Linked DNA regions of Homo sapiens: region 2 is linked to region 1. The links are contacts of gene promoters, found by promoter capture Hi-C in human tissues and cell types (Jung and others, 2019). All regions are on one chromosome and are shown on one strand. Each heading gives the region's core, a stretch centred on a gene start or on the middle of the fragment in contact. The rest is flanking DNA. Distances are from core to core; before and after follow the strand shown. Region 1 holds the start of ZG16 (zymogen granule protein 16). Region 2 holds the start of TMEM219 (transmembrane protein 219).

The links. Contacts are between HindIII fragments. The study calls those that stand out against the background at their distance.
Region 2: a fragment that was not itself captured here is called in contact with the fragment with the promoter of ZG16 in region 1 in 1 of the 25 tissues and cell types used here (mesenchymal stem cells).

Annotation. Positions count from the first base shown.
Region 1 is chr16:29,773,122-29,780,087 of GRCh38, reverse strand. It overlaps ZG16 (zymogen granule protein 16), which reads right to left and starts at 1,832. Exons shown (of 4, transcript NM_152338.4): 1 at 1,782-1,832; 2 at 767-828; 3 at 451-583. The coding sequence starts at 821. RefSeq lists an enhancer at 4,026-4,320. The HindIII fragment of the contact is 7,779 bases long and covers 645-6,966 here.
Region 2 is chr16:29,959,640-29,966,617 of GRCh38, reverse strand. It overlaps TMEM219 (transmembrane protein 219), which reads right to left and starts at 4,539. Exons shown (of 6, transcript NM_001083613.2): 1 at 4,486-4,539; 2 at 3,310-3,511; 3 at 3,029-3,218. The coding sequence starts at 3,474. RefSeq lists a silencer at 4,257-4,706 and an enhancer at 5,057-5,166. The HindIII fragment of the contact is 7,005 bases long and covers 1-6,207 here.

The sequences.
Region 1 (6,966 bases), core at 583-3,082:
GAAGGAAGGAGAAAGAAAGGTGATGATAGGGATGAGAGGTCTCTGGCTAGTCCTACAGACTGTGAAGCCTGGGTGAACCCTGGAAGATCCTACAGGGAACTTCAACTCATTTTGCCAACAAAGAGACTCTGTCACCCAGGCTGGAGTGCAGTGGCATGATCTTGGCTCACTGCAGCCTCAACATCCTGGGCTCAGGCAATCCTCCCGCCTCTCCCTCCTGAGTAGTTGAGGCTACAGGTACTCACCACCATGCCTGGCTAATTTTTTTGTTTTTCTTCGGTAGAGATGGGGTCTTGGTACCTGGAGCATGGTTTAAATCCCTGGCATCCCTGGCATCTTGCCCAGGCTGAGCTAGAACTCCTGGCCTCAAGCGATCTGCCTCTGCCTCCCAAAGCATTGTAATGACAGATGTGAGCCACCGCGCCCAGCCAGGAATTCAAAGAATCTTACCCTACGATGTAGTATGTGTTGACTCGGACCCGGAGGGCGGTGATGGGGCCGTCCAACTGGTTGCCAGAATGAGAGAATCGCTTTCCACCACCACCTCCATACTCTCCACTATAGGAGGAAGACCTGGCCTGAACTGGAGGGGCAAGCAGGAGTTGGAGGGAGAAATCTTCCAGGAGTTCAGTTTCTCTGCATCACCCCTGTTCCTCCGACAACTCAGCTCCCCACCCCAAGCCAACCTCCAAAAGCCTTGGCCAACAGCAGTGCCCAAGGCTGCCTTCCCAAGTCCCCAATACCAGGCTCCTGGTATCTCACTTACTGGCATTGCCAGAGGCTGAGGCACAGAGAAGGGCTAGGAGAGCGACTGTCAACATTCTGGGGCTGGAGTGGGAAGAAAAGAGCAAATGAAGATTCACCTTCTTCCTTGTTGACTTGATTGACCCAGGCACTCCTGACCTGCAGCTCAGACCAAGCCTTCTTCGTCCTTCAACTTAGACCTAGCAGACCCAGTCTTGAGCTTAGAAAGGACTGTCCATAGCCTGTAGTCCTGTTCCTCTCTGATGCTACCTTCAATGTCCCTGACCCCTCCAGCTCTCCCTGGTCTGGCTGTAGCCAAGCCCTCCTCTTTTTCTCTCAGGCCTGAAGATGAACTCTAACTATCTGGATTAAGCCTTATTCCATCCTGGCACAAAGCAGAAAAGTTTTCTGAAGTCAGCCAAGCCCAGGTACATTTGGGTTGGTATGGCCATAGCCAGGAAACGAGTTTTCTAAGGAGGGAGTAGAGGACCTCTCCCAAGCAAAGAGATGGCTGAGTTTACTGAGCCCAGAGGCTGAGCAAAGAAAGCCTCATCATCTGTGGTGAATTGGCCTGGATTATGGGGCACCTGGAGCATGGTTTAAATCCCTGGCATCCACCTGGTCTCAAGGAAAGAAGCATTTTAGAGTTGCCTCTATGTTACCTGGGGAGCAAAGTTGGTGACAGAAGGAACTGTGCCAGCACCAGTATCCAAGCAGTGCTGGTGGAACTAGGACAGACAGAGAAGTTGCAGAAGGAGTCGGGACCAGCTCAAGATATTAGACCCCAGGTGCCTGGTCTATGTGTCACTATTCTTTTCTCCACTAACACACATCTGGCCATTTCTATTCTCCTGAACATCCCAGGTGTCCCCAGTCCTTCAGCAGAGACCTAGACAGCTTTGCACCTAAGATTACTGCAGACCCAGAAGCGCCAATTAACTCAAGTCTTTCCTGCCATTCCTTCCAGGCATCCTCTTCGCCAGCTCAGATTTGAATTCCCCCCCAACTCAGATTCAGGCATCTCTGTCACCCCTCACCTGACAGTTTCAGATGCAAAGCAGCCCCCTGGAAACTTCCAGATGTTTTATACCAGGTCCAAGCCCTCCTCCTGCCCTTTATTGTGTGAACCTCACCTCCTGAGCAAACATGAGCAACCTCTTCGGATCAGGTGTCAGGCAGGGTCTGGAACACCTTATCCTGCCTCTACCCCATAGTCAACAGATACTACAGCATAGGGTAAGATTCTCTGAGTTCCTGGCTGGGCATGGTGACTCACACCTGTCATTACAATGCTTTGGGAGGCAGAGGCAGATCGCTTGAGGCCAGGAGTTCTAGCTCAGCCTGGGCAAGAGTGTGAGACCCCATCTCTACCAAAACAAAAAACAAAAACAAAAATTAGCCGGGCATGGTGACGAGCACCTGTAGCCTCAACTAATCAGGAGGGAGGTAGGGAAGATCGCCTGAGCCCAGGACGTTGAGGCTGCAGTGAGACAAGATCACGCCACTGCACTCCAGCCTGGGTGACAGGTGGCAAGCTGGAGTCCACTCTGGGCCAAGTGCCGTATACCAGGAGAAACATAGTAAACTTAAGGTCACCACCAGCAGCTCTAGGTGGGCAAAGTAGCTTATCACCTCTAGGCTTAGTAGGTGCTCTCACCTGAAATCTGCCATCTGTCAGGACAAACAGAGCCCTTCCCAGGCATTCGAAATGTGGATTCTCCCAGAAGGGAATATATTCCCAAAATCTTATACTTACGAGTGCTGACTATTTGCCAGACATTTTTTTCTTTCCCTTTTCTAATATTATGAAAAATCCAAACACATATAAAAGTTTAAAGAATTGTACAGTGGCTGGGCCCAGTGGCTCACACCCATAATCCAACACTTTGGGAAGCTGAGGCAGCTGGATCACCTGAGGTCAGGAGTTTGAGACCAGCTTGGCCAACATGGCGAAACCCCATCTGTACTAAAAATACAAAAAGTAGCTGGGTGTGATGGCAGGTGCCTGTGATCCCAGCTAGTCAGGAGACTGAGGCAGGAGAATCACTTGAACCTGAGGGGCAGAGGTTGCAGTGAGCTGAGATCACTCCACTGCACTCTAGCCTGGGCGACAGAGTGAGACTCCATCTCAAAAAAAAAAAAAAAAAAAACAAAAGAATCGTATAGCAAGACTGGGTGCAGTGGCTCATGCCTGTAATCCCGGCACTTTGAGAGGTCAAAGCAGGAGGACTGCTTAAGCTCAGGAGTTCAGGACCAACATGGGCAACATAGGGAGATCTCGTCTCTACAAAAAATAAAACAATTAGCCAGGCATGGTGGTGCACACCTGTGATCCCAGCTAGTCAGGAGGCTGAGGCAAGAGGATCACTTGAGCTGAGGAGGTCAAAGTTGCAGTGAGCCATGATCGAAACATCAAGTCTCAAAAAAAGGAAAAAAAAAAAAAGAATTGTATAGTGGACACTTATATAACCACTGTATAGATTCTACTATGGTTAATATTTTGCTGTAATTGCTTTTTTTTCTTTCTTCTTTTTGGAGACACAGTCTTGCTCTATCCCTCAGGCTGGAGGGCAGTGGCGCGATCTCGGCTCACTATAATCTCTGCTTCCCAGGTTCAAGCGATTCTCCTGCCTCAGCCTCCCGAGTAGCTGGGATTACAGGCATGCGCCACCACGCCCAGCTAATTTTTGTAATTTTAGTAGAGACAGGGTTTCGCCATGTTTGCCAGGATGGTCTCGATCTCTTGACCTCGTGATCCGCCCACCTCGGCCTCCCAAAGTGCTGGGATTACAGGCGTGAGCCACTGTGCCTGGCCTGCATTTTTTTTTCTATCCACTCATCTATTTATCCCCAATATGCCAAACACTTCCCAAACCATTTCTCTCTGAGAAGGATGACTGGGGCTGCAGGTGCACAGTGAACACGTGCCTATTGCCCCACAGGAAACAGAGTCAGTCCAATGGGAAGTGCAAAGCTAAGGATCCGAAGGTCTACAGGTGTTCCTCTGGGGGTAATTCTGGGCTTTGGGCCCTCAAGTCTCCTGGGTACCATGGCTGAATCTTCCTGGGGCTGTAGGCCGCCCAGGGCCATTGCTTCTTTCTTAGGTCTGTAACACCCCCAGGGGTGATGTCATAGTTTTTTTTTTCTCTGTATGCCCTTCATTTTCAGGACTGATTCCTCTCTGCCTAAAATCCCTAAGACTGACTCCAGGGACCTAGTGCCTGACCCCTCCTGGACTGGCCCTCTGACCTCTCTGAATCAGGAGGTCCAAGAAGAGGGAAGGATGGAGGACCAGAAGGGGCTGGAATAAGTGCTCTCAATTATAAATGACTAGTCAGGCATTCAGAGCACCCCACCCCTCACAGGTTTACCATCTGGGGCCAATGACTCATCCCAGATAGCAAAGGCAGTCCCGCCTGAGGATCTGGAAATGGGGGGAATCCAGGGTGGTGAGTTCTGGGAGTGAAACAGAACAGCAGCCAAAGATTCCACGTTCACTCCTCCCTTCCCCTCTCTTTTTCTCCAAGGTCAGTGTCAGCACATCCTGCTACTATAACTTTCACCTCATTCCAGCCATTTTGTTTTGTGTCTCTCTCCCTCTCTCTTTCCTGGTGACTCTCCTTCCCTTTATGTCTTCATCTTTCCCTGCTCTGGGGAGGATTTTTCTTTCTTTCTTTCTTTCTTTTTTTTTAGATGGAGTCTTGCTCTGTTGCCAGGCTGGAGTGCAGTGGCGCGATCTCGACTCACTTCAACCTCTGCCTCCAGGGTTCAAGCAATTCCCCTGCCTCAGCCTCCTGAGTAGCTGGGACTACAGGTGCGCACCACCACACCCAGATAATTTTTTCTATTTTACTAGAGATGGGGTTTCACCATGTTGGCCAGGATGGTCTCAATCTCCTGACCTTGTGATCCACCTTCCTCAGCCCCCCAAAGTGCTAGGATTATAGGCGTGAGCCACCACACCCGGCCTTTTTTTCTTTTTTCTTTTTTTTTTTGAGATAGATTCTCGCTCTGTCACCCAGGCTGGAGTGCAGTGGCCTGATCTCAGCTTACTGCAACCTCTGCCTCCAGGGTTCAAGCGATTCTCCTGCTTCAGCCTCCGGAGTAGCTAGAATTACAGGCACCCACCACCATGCCTGGCTAATTTTTGTATTTTTAGTAAAGATGGGGTTTCACCATGTTGGCCAGGCTGGTCTTGAAATGACCTCAGGTGATCCACCCACCTTGGCCTCCCAAAGTGCGGGAATTACAGGCGTGAGCCACCATGCCTGGCCTAAGGGGTTTTTTTTTATATTCCTTCCCTCCATGCCTTTTTCCTTCTGCCTCTTCTTTCCTTGTCCCTACATCTCTCCCAAGCTCTCTCTCTAGCTCTTTCTCCTCTCTAATCCTTGCTTGTCTTCTTCTGTTTAGGGACAGACCACCCCTAGTCTGTGACCAAACACAGGAAGTCAAAGATGGCAGCTCAGAGAGGTCGAGATGGGCACCTTGGAAGAACGCCCTCATGTTCCCAGGCATGACACATCCAGGACCCTCAGGACAGAGGCACCCACATTTGCCACAGCTCCACTCCGTTGCACCCACCCTGCCTGTATGGAGATCCAGCATCTCCTCCATTGCCGAAGACTGCTTCTTGTTCCACTATAGCAAGTCCTCAGTCTCCAGAGTGCAAGAGATGCTTTCCTATGATGGGAGGGGTCTCAAGGCCCATTTTCTGTCCATCCCAGAAACAAGGAAAGCTGCCCTATCGCTAATGCTGGCACCTCTAGGGTGCACTCTCATGTGGGGACTGAGGCAGAAGGAAGAACGTGAAGGCAGTGAGACACCAGGCCCCCATCTCTGCTTCTGCCTTATCAGATCCTGTTTGAGCCACTTTACATTTAACCCACGTGCCAGCTGTGGGCCTACCTGCCCCTTTTAAACTCTAGATGAAGTTGCCTTAAACCTCATCCCGTTCCCGGGCCTGCACGCGTGAATGTCCAAAGCCCTTCCAGAGCTTTCTGCTACTAAACAGAAAGCAACTCAACACATGTTTTTTTGTTTGTTTTTGTTTTTTGTTTGCTTGTTTTTTTTTTTTTTTTCAAGATGGGGTCTTGCTCTGCTGCCCTTTCTTGGCTCACTGCAACTTCCACCTCCCGGGTTCAGGCGATTCTCCTGCCTCAGCCTCCCAAGTAGCTGGGATTACAGACATCCACCACCACGCCTTGCTAATTTTTGTATTTTTAGTAGAGACAGGGTTTCACCATGTTGGCCAGACTTGTTTCTAACTCTGACCTCTTGATCCACCCTCAGCCTCCCAAAGTGCTAGGATTACAGGCGTGAGCCACTGTGCCCGGCTCAACACGTTTATCAAGCATCTCTACATTGGAGGTACCATTCTAGACGCTGAAGAGACAGCAATGAAGAAAAGAGTCAACAGCCGACCTCAAGGAGCTGTAGGGCCAAGGGAAAGCTTCCTTTCTGCTCTCTAGCCCTATAAAGGCTCCCCAAAAAGGAACTGACAATTGGCAAATTAATAGGAGAAAAATGTGTACAAAATTTATGTCACATGTACAAGCATAAGGAAACCACAGGAGAACGATGACCTAATAACCCAACGTGGTCCAGATGCTTATGTAGCTGCCTTCTTCACAGGGGAGGGGAAATGGGGGTGCAGCAATGTTGAGAGGTAGTATGTGATTTTGTGGGGAAATGAATGGGGCCAGGTGCAGTGGCTCACACACCTGTAATCCCAGCACTTTGGGAGCCCGAGGCGGATGGATCACTTGAGGTCAGGAGTTTGAGATCAGCCTGACCAACATGGTGAAACCCCGTCTCTACTAAAAAATACAAAAATCAGCCAGGTGTTGTGGCACATGCATGTAATCCCAGCTACTTGGGAGGCTGAGGCAGGAGAATCGCTTGAACCAGGGAAGTGGAGGTTGCAGTGAGCCGAGATTGCACCATTGCACTCCAGCCTGGGCAACAAAAGCAGAACTCCGTTTCAAAAAAATAGCCGGGCGCAGTGGCTCACGCCTGTAATCCCAGCACTTTGGGAGGCCGAGGCGGGCGGATCATGAGGTCAGGAGATCAAGGCCATCCTGGCTAATGGTGAAACCCCATCTCTACTAAAAACACACACAAAAAAATTAGCTGGGCACGGTAGCGGGTGCCTGTAATCCCAGCTACTCGGGAGGCTGAGGCAGAAGAATCGCTTGAACCCGGGAGGCAGAGGCTGCAGTGAGC
Region 2 (6,978 bases), core at 1,456-3,955, 190 kb before region 1:
GTCTTGAACTCCTGACCTCAGGTGATCCACCTGCCTCAGCCTTCCAAAGGCTGGGATTATAGGAATGAGCCACCACGCCTGGCCAGAATATTTTCTAATTTTAAAATGAGGAAGGGCTTCCTATGAAAGACACAAAACCTAAAAGTTTTAATAAAGGACAAGAGTGATAAACCTAACCTCATAAAAATTAAAGACTTCTATGCAATGAAAGATAAGTTAAAAAAACAAGTAACATATTGAAAATACCTATAATATATTTAAATGACAAAAGGTTTACTATCTAGAATAAAGACCTACAAATCAAGAAGAAAAAGACAAATAACTTAAAAGAAAAAGGAACAAAGGAAACAAACAGGTAATTCACAGGCAACATGAATACAGACAATAAACCATAAGAGGCTCAACCTTACTAGCAATCAAGAGAAAGTAAATAAAACAATTGGGTAATACGCCAGACCCGGTAGCTCATGCCTGTAATCCCAGCACTTTGGGAGGTGAGGCAGGAGGATCACTTGAGCCCAGTAGTTTGAAACTAGCCTGGGCAACATAGTGAGACCACATCTCTATAAAAAATACAAAAATTGGCCAGGCGCAGTGGCTCACACCTGTAATCCCAGCACTTTGGGAGGCCAAGGCGGGCGGATCATGAGGTCAGGAGTTCAAGACCAGCCTGGCCAACATGGTGAAACCCCATCTCTACTAAAAATACAAAAATTAGCTGGGCATGGTGCCACATGCCTGTAATCCCAGCTACTTGGGAGACTGAGGCAGGAGAATCTCCTGAAACTGGGAGGCAGAGGTTCAGTGAGCTGAGATCGCATCACTGCCCTCCAGTCTGGGTGACAGAGCAAGACTCCTTGGGCTGGGGGGCGGGAATTAGGTGAGCGTGATGGCGAGCACCTGTAATCCCAGCTACTCAGGAGGCTGAGGCAGGAGAATGTTTACTGCAAGCCCTGCCTCCCAGGGATAAGCAATCCTCCCACCTTAGCCTCCCAAGTAGCTGGGACCACAGGTGTGCACCACCACGCCTGGCTTTTTTTTTTTTTTTTTTTTGTATTTTTAGTAGAGACAGAGTCTTGCCATTTTGTCCAGGCTGGTCTCGAACACCTGCGCTCAAGCAATCTGCCTGCCTTGGCCTCCCAAAGTGCTGGGATTACAGGCATGAGCCACCACATCCGGCCCTAACTGTACACTTTCAATGGGTGAATTGTATGGTACATGAATCATATCTCAATAAAACTATTATATATCTATTTAAAAGTAAAAAGAATGGGAAAGAATTGTCCCAAGTCTGCATATATCGGACACATTCCTTATTTTTGTTAACATACATGTACATCTGGACATGCAGAGACCCACTCCCCCGACACATATATACTCACAGGAGAATCTTAGAATGATAGTGTTGTAAAGGACCTCAGAAGTCAGAAAATACCACCCTCTTCCATCCCTCTTTATCTTAGCATATTTTAGATAAGGCCAAATGTCACACAGGGATTATTGGCATCCACTGACATTTTCACATTCTCCCTATCGCTTGTCATTTTCCCAGAAGACTATAGCTCTTTGGAAATTGATGGTGTCTAATTTTTTTCTGCATCTTTTGTGGCATACAGAACTATGCTAAGGAAAAAGGGGCCTCTAGGAGGAGGTGGCTAAAGGATGAGAAAACATTAGGTCAAACCTAGCCCATTTCATCCTACCTCCAAGGATAGACTCAAAGAACATCAGAACTGGCAGAGGAAGAAAGCATTCATAGAAAACCTACCCTGTCGGCAGCATGTTCACTGAAAGCCCTAATCACAGAAGTGACTAAAGTCCAGGGATGTGCCCAAGGTCATCATTGGTGAGGTCAGAGGCAGGGCCCAGCCCTGAGTGTTCTGATACCCGACCCCACAGTCCTCTGTGATCTCACCTTACTTTTTTTTTTTTGGCGCAGGGTGGTGGGGGGGGCGCGGGGCGGGACAGAGTCTCTGTTGCCCAGGCTAGAGTGCAGTGGTGTGATCTCTGCTTATTGCAACCTCCGCCTCCCAGGTTCAAGCGATTCTCCTGCCTCAGCCTCCCAAGTAGCTGGGACTACAGGCACCTGCCACCACACCTGGCTACTTTTTGTATTTTTGTTTGTTTGTTTGTTTGAGACGGAGTCTTGCTCTGTCTCCCAGGCTGGAGTACAGTGGCACGATCTTGGCTCACTGCAACCTCCACCTCCCGGGTTCAAGCAATTCTCCTGCCTCAGCCTCCCAAGTAGCTGGAACTACAGGCTTGCACCACCAAGCCTGGCTAATTTTTTTTTTTGAGACCGAGTTTTGCTCTGTTGCCCAGGATGGAGTGCAGTGGTACGATCTCGGCTCACTGCAACCTCCGCCTCCTGGCTTCAAGTGATTCTCCTGCCTCAGCCTCCTGAGTAGCTGGGATTACAGGCACGTGCAACCATGCCCGGCTAATTTTTGTATTTTTAGTAGAGATGGGGTTTCACCATGTTGGTCAGGCTGGACTCAAACTCCTGACCTCATGATCTGCCCGCCTCGGCCTCCCAAACTGCTGGGATTACCGCTGTGGGCCACCGCAACCAGACCACCAGGTTAATTTTTGTATTTCTAGTAGAGACGGGGTTTCACCATGTTGGCCAGGCTGGTCTCGAACTCCTAACCTCGTGATCTGCCCTTCTCGGACTCCCAAAGTGCTGGGATTACAGGCATGAGCCACCGCACCTGATTTTTTTTTTTTTTTTTTTTGAGACAGAGTCTTGCTCTGTCACCCAGGCTGGAGTGCAATGGTGCGATCTCGGTTCACTGCAACCTCCATCTCCTGGGTTCAAGCGATTCTCCTTCCTCAGCCTCCCGAGTAGTTGGGATTAGAGGCGCCTGCCACCATGCCTGGCTAATTTTTGTATTTTTAGTAGAGATGGTGTTTCATCATGTTGGCCAGGCTGGTCTTGAACTCCTGACCTCAAATGATCCACCTACCTTAGCCTCCCAAAGTGTTGGGATTACAGGCGTGAGCCACCACACCCAGCCTCTGATCTCACCTTTCAATCCCATCTGACTTCCCAGGACTGTGGCCTGGAATGTCCGGGTCTTGTTCCTGTCTGGACCGTCTCCGAAGTTCAAGGTGGTCAGCAAGCCCACGACGTGAGACCCTCGCCACTTCCCTGTGACTGTCCCATTCCTGGGACACAGGGTCAGCTGGCCAAAAGATCTCAAAAAAGAGACCCAGTCCTGTGAGCAAAAGAAGACGGGTGAGATGAGATTAGCAGCAAAAGCCTGTCTAGGTTGGAAGGAAGAGCGGGTACGGGGGTGGGGAACTTACCTGGGGGATGTCAGGGCTGCGCAGGCCAGTCCTGTGGGTGAGGAGGAAGCTGCCAAGGCCCAGGCCAGAGAGGCCAAGGAGCAGCAGGATCAAAGTGGCACAGACCAGAGGTGGGTGGTGGGCCAGACACAGGTGCAGGTTGTGCCCTGCCTGGCAGTTGCCCATGGGGAGCAGAGGGGGCTGAGCCTCCGGGGAGAGCCTGCTGGAAGACAGGGAGGGAGAATGGGACAAGAGCACCGCTTTTACGCAAAGAGAAAAGAAAGCTCAGAGAAGACAAAGGACTTCCCAAGGCCACACAGTAAGTGGCAGAGCCAGAACAAGAATCCAAGGTTCCCGACTCCAAAAGTTCAACTCCCTGCACTGCTGGATAAATATTTGCTGCATTTCATTTCTGAAGTAATCTAAGTGGAGGCAGAGCAGTGTACTCCGTGCTGGAAGAAGGAAACTGAAAGGGAGACTTCTCAGCTGGAGAAACAGGAAGCACTGTTCTGGGGCGAGGATTTGGCTGAGGAATAGTTCCAGCCAGAGCCCAGACAAGGGAAGACTCTGGAGAAGAACTCCACTGTGCAGCTAAACGGCTAGATCTGAATCCCTTTCTGTTATTCACTGACTCTGTGAGCTTAAGAATCCATGAAATGGGAGTTCTGAGAACACCAAGTAATAAGGATTAAACGTGGCGGATGAAGCAGTCTGCGTGGTATTTGGCCATGCAGGAATTCAACAAATGTCCACTTCCTTTCTCTTTCTCGTACAGATCCTCAAAACCGGGTAAGGCGAGGCAAAAAATACTGTGAGGGAAACTGAGGCTCGCGGACTTTAACACAGGAGGGGTAGGGCCAAGATCTGAACCCCGCCTCCTGCTTCCAAGTGGGGTGCTCCTTCCCACGCAAGGTGCGACGGCCTGATGGAAAAGAACTTCTGGAAGGCGAAGAGATAAACAGGGGTCGGGGGAAAAGAAGGGAGCCACGGAAATGTAGGTGTCACAAATGCTCAGCCCTGCCCCGCCTCCCGTCCGGCTGGAAGGGGGTTAAAGGGAGGGGAGGGCAGAGTCTGAGGGTCCGCCGCCGCTGGTGCACCTGAGCACCCCCTCCCCGGAAAGCCCCCGCCCCGAACGATTGCAACGCCCTCGTCCCCTCCCGGTCTCGCGCGTCGGATCCGCCAGCCGCTCGCTCTTACCCCTCGGGGCCGGGCGGAGGCCGGCGCCCCCCGCGACGTCACGAGCGGGGCCGCGAGGGGGCGGGGTCCGTGCTCTGCGCTTCCGTCCCCGACCCTCCTCCTCGCGCGGCCCCGCCCCGCGGCCGGGTCCGCATGCGCAGTGGCCACGCGGGCGCCAGCCTCGCAGCTCACCGCCAGGGTGGGGGCGTACCAAAGGGACACCCAAGGAAGGAGCCACCAGAAAGGAAAACCTCCGTGGGAGGGGTGGAAACGGGAGCGAGGCCAGGGAGCAAGTGCGAGAAACGTCGCAGAACCCGTAGGCTCCCTCCAGAGAGACTGGCGAGAACTGCCCCAGAAGCTTGTCGCGGGCATTTTTGGGCTGTGCGTCCCCTACCCGCGCCAATAGCACAGACCAGCCGCGCCCGGGTTCCCGGTGAGGACTCGGCATCCGCTCAGAGTTGCAGGGCTGCCACTTGAGGACTCTGTCCACTGGGGCTGGGAGTGGTGTTTTGGACTCCGCTCTTCTGTGCACCCCGATCTGCACCTTTCTCGTGGACCCTGACTTTTAGTGACTCCTTAATGTATAGGATGCTGGAGCTGAAGAGTTGCTCAGTAGAGAGCATCTCAGTTCACTTCTGCCCAAGTTTTGGAGGTGAGAACATCTGACTGGAGGTAGCATGACACATGGAGCCAGGAACTTTGGGTTCAAATCCTGACTGTCCGTACCCTCGCATAAGCCATAGCCGCGCTCTCAGGGGACTAAGCTTACCCCTCTACTAAAGAGGATCATCCTATCTATCTCACCGGTTGGATCAGAAGCTTAAAGGGTAAAATGTGGGAAAACATGGGCCCAGTGCCCACTAAGCACACAGGACAGATGCTACTTGAAACGGAATCTATTTAATTCGACTGTGGCTTCCTTAAGGCAGAGGCCATGTCGTTTGTATCAACAGCCACAAAAGTTTGTGGCACAAAACCTTCGCATATACAAATGATTTTTTTTTTTTTTGAGACGGGGTCTCAGTCTGTCGCCAGGCTGGAGTGTAGTGGCGCGATCTCGACTCACTGCAACCTCCGCCTCCCGGATTCAAGCTATTCTTCTGCCTCAGCCTTCCGAGTAGCTGGGACTACAGGCGCACGCCACCACGCCCAGCTAATTTTTGTATTTTTAGTAGAGACGAGGTTTCACCATGTTGGCCGGGATGGTCTTGATCTCTTGACTTCGTGGTCTGCCCGCATCGGCCCCCCAAAGTGCTGGGATTACAAGCGTGAACCACCACACCCGGCCGATTTTTTTTTTTTTTTTTTTTTTTTTTTGACAGAGCCTTGCTCTGTCATCGCCCAGGCTGGAGTTCAGTGGCACAATCAAAGCTCGCTGCAGTCTGGACGTCTTGGGCTCAAGAGATCCTCCCGCCTTAGCCTCCTGGGTAGTTGAGACAGCCGGTAGTCACACGCCACCCACCATGCCCAGCTAACTTTTGCATTGTGTGTAGAGACGGGGTTTTGCCATTTGCCATGTTGCCCAGGCATGTCTCGAACTCCTGACCTCAAGCAGTCCTCTCGCCTCGGCCTCCCAAAGTGCTGGGATTACAGGCGTGAGCCACTGTGCCCTGACTAGTCAAATGATTTTTGACAAGGGTGCTGTGGGCGTTCAGTAGAGAAAAGAGTCTTTTCTGTGCATCGAAGGACACAACAGGCTGGGCACGGTGGCTCAAGCCTGTAATCCTAGCACTTTGGGAGGCCGAGGCGGGTGGATCACCTGAGGTCAGGAGTTTGAGACCAGCCTGGCCAACATGGTGAAACCCCATCTCTACTAAAAGTACAAAATTAGCCAGGCATGGTGCCGGGCGCCTATAATCCCAGCTACTCCGGAGGCTAAGGCTGGAGAATCGCTTGAACCTGGGGAGTGGAGGTTGCAGTGAGCTGAGATTGCACCACTTCACTCCAGCCTGGGCAAAAGATCAAAACTCTGCCCCACAAAAAACAAAAACAAAAAAAGGAAAGGACAGTGAAAAGGCAACCAACAGAATGAGAGGAAATATCAAATCATATATCTTATAAGGGGTTAATATCTATAATATATAAAGAACTCCTACAACTCAACAACAGCCCAATCTCAGCTCACCTCAACCTCTGCCTCTCAGGCTCAAGGGATTCTCCTGCCTCAGCCTCCCGAGTAACTGAGATTACAGGCACACGCCACTATCACCTGACTAATTTTTGTACTTATTAGTAGAGACAGGGTTTCACCATATTGGCCAGGCTGATCTCAAACTCCTGACCTCAAATGATCCACCCGCCTTGGCCTCCCAAAGTACTAGGATTATAGGCGTGAGCCACCGCGCCCGGCCTAATTTTTTGTATTTTTAGTAGAGATGGGGTTTCATCATGTTGGCCAGGCTGGTCTCAAATTCCTGACCTCAGGTGATCCACCCGCCTCAGACTCACGAAGTGCTGGGATTACAGGTGTGAACCACCGCACCAGCCAAGTATACCAACATTTTGACTTAATCC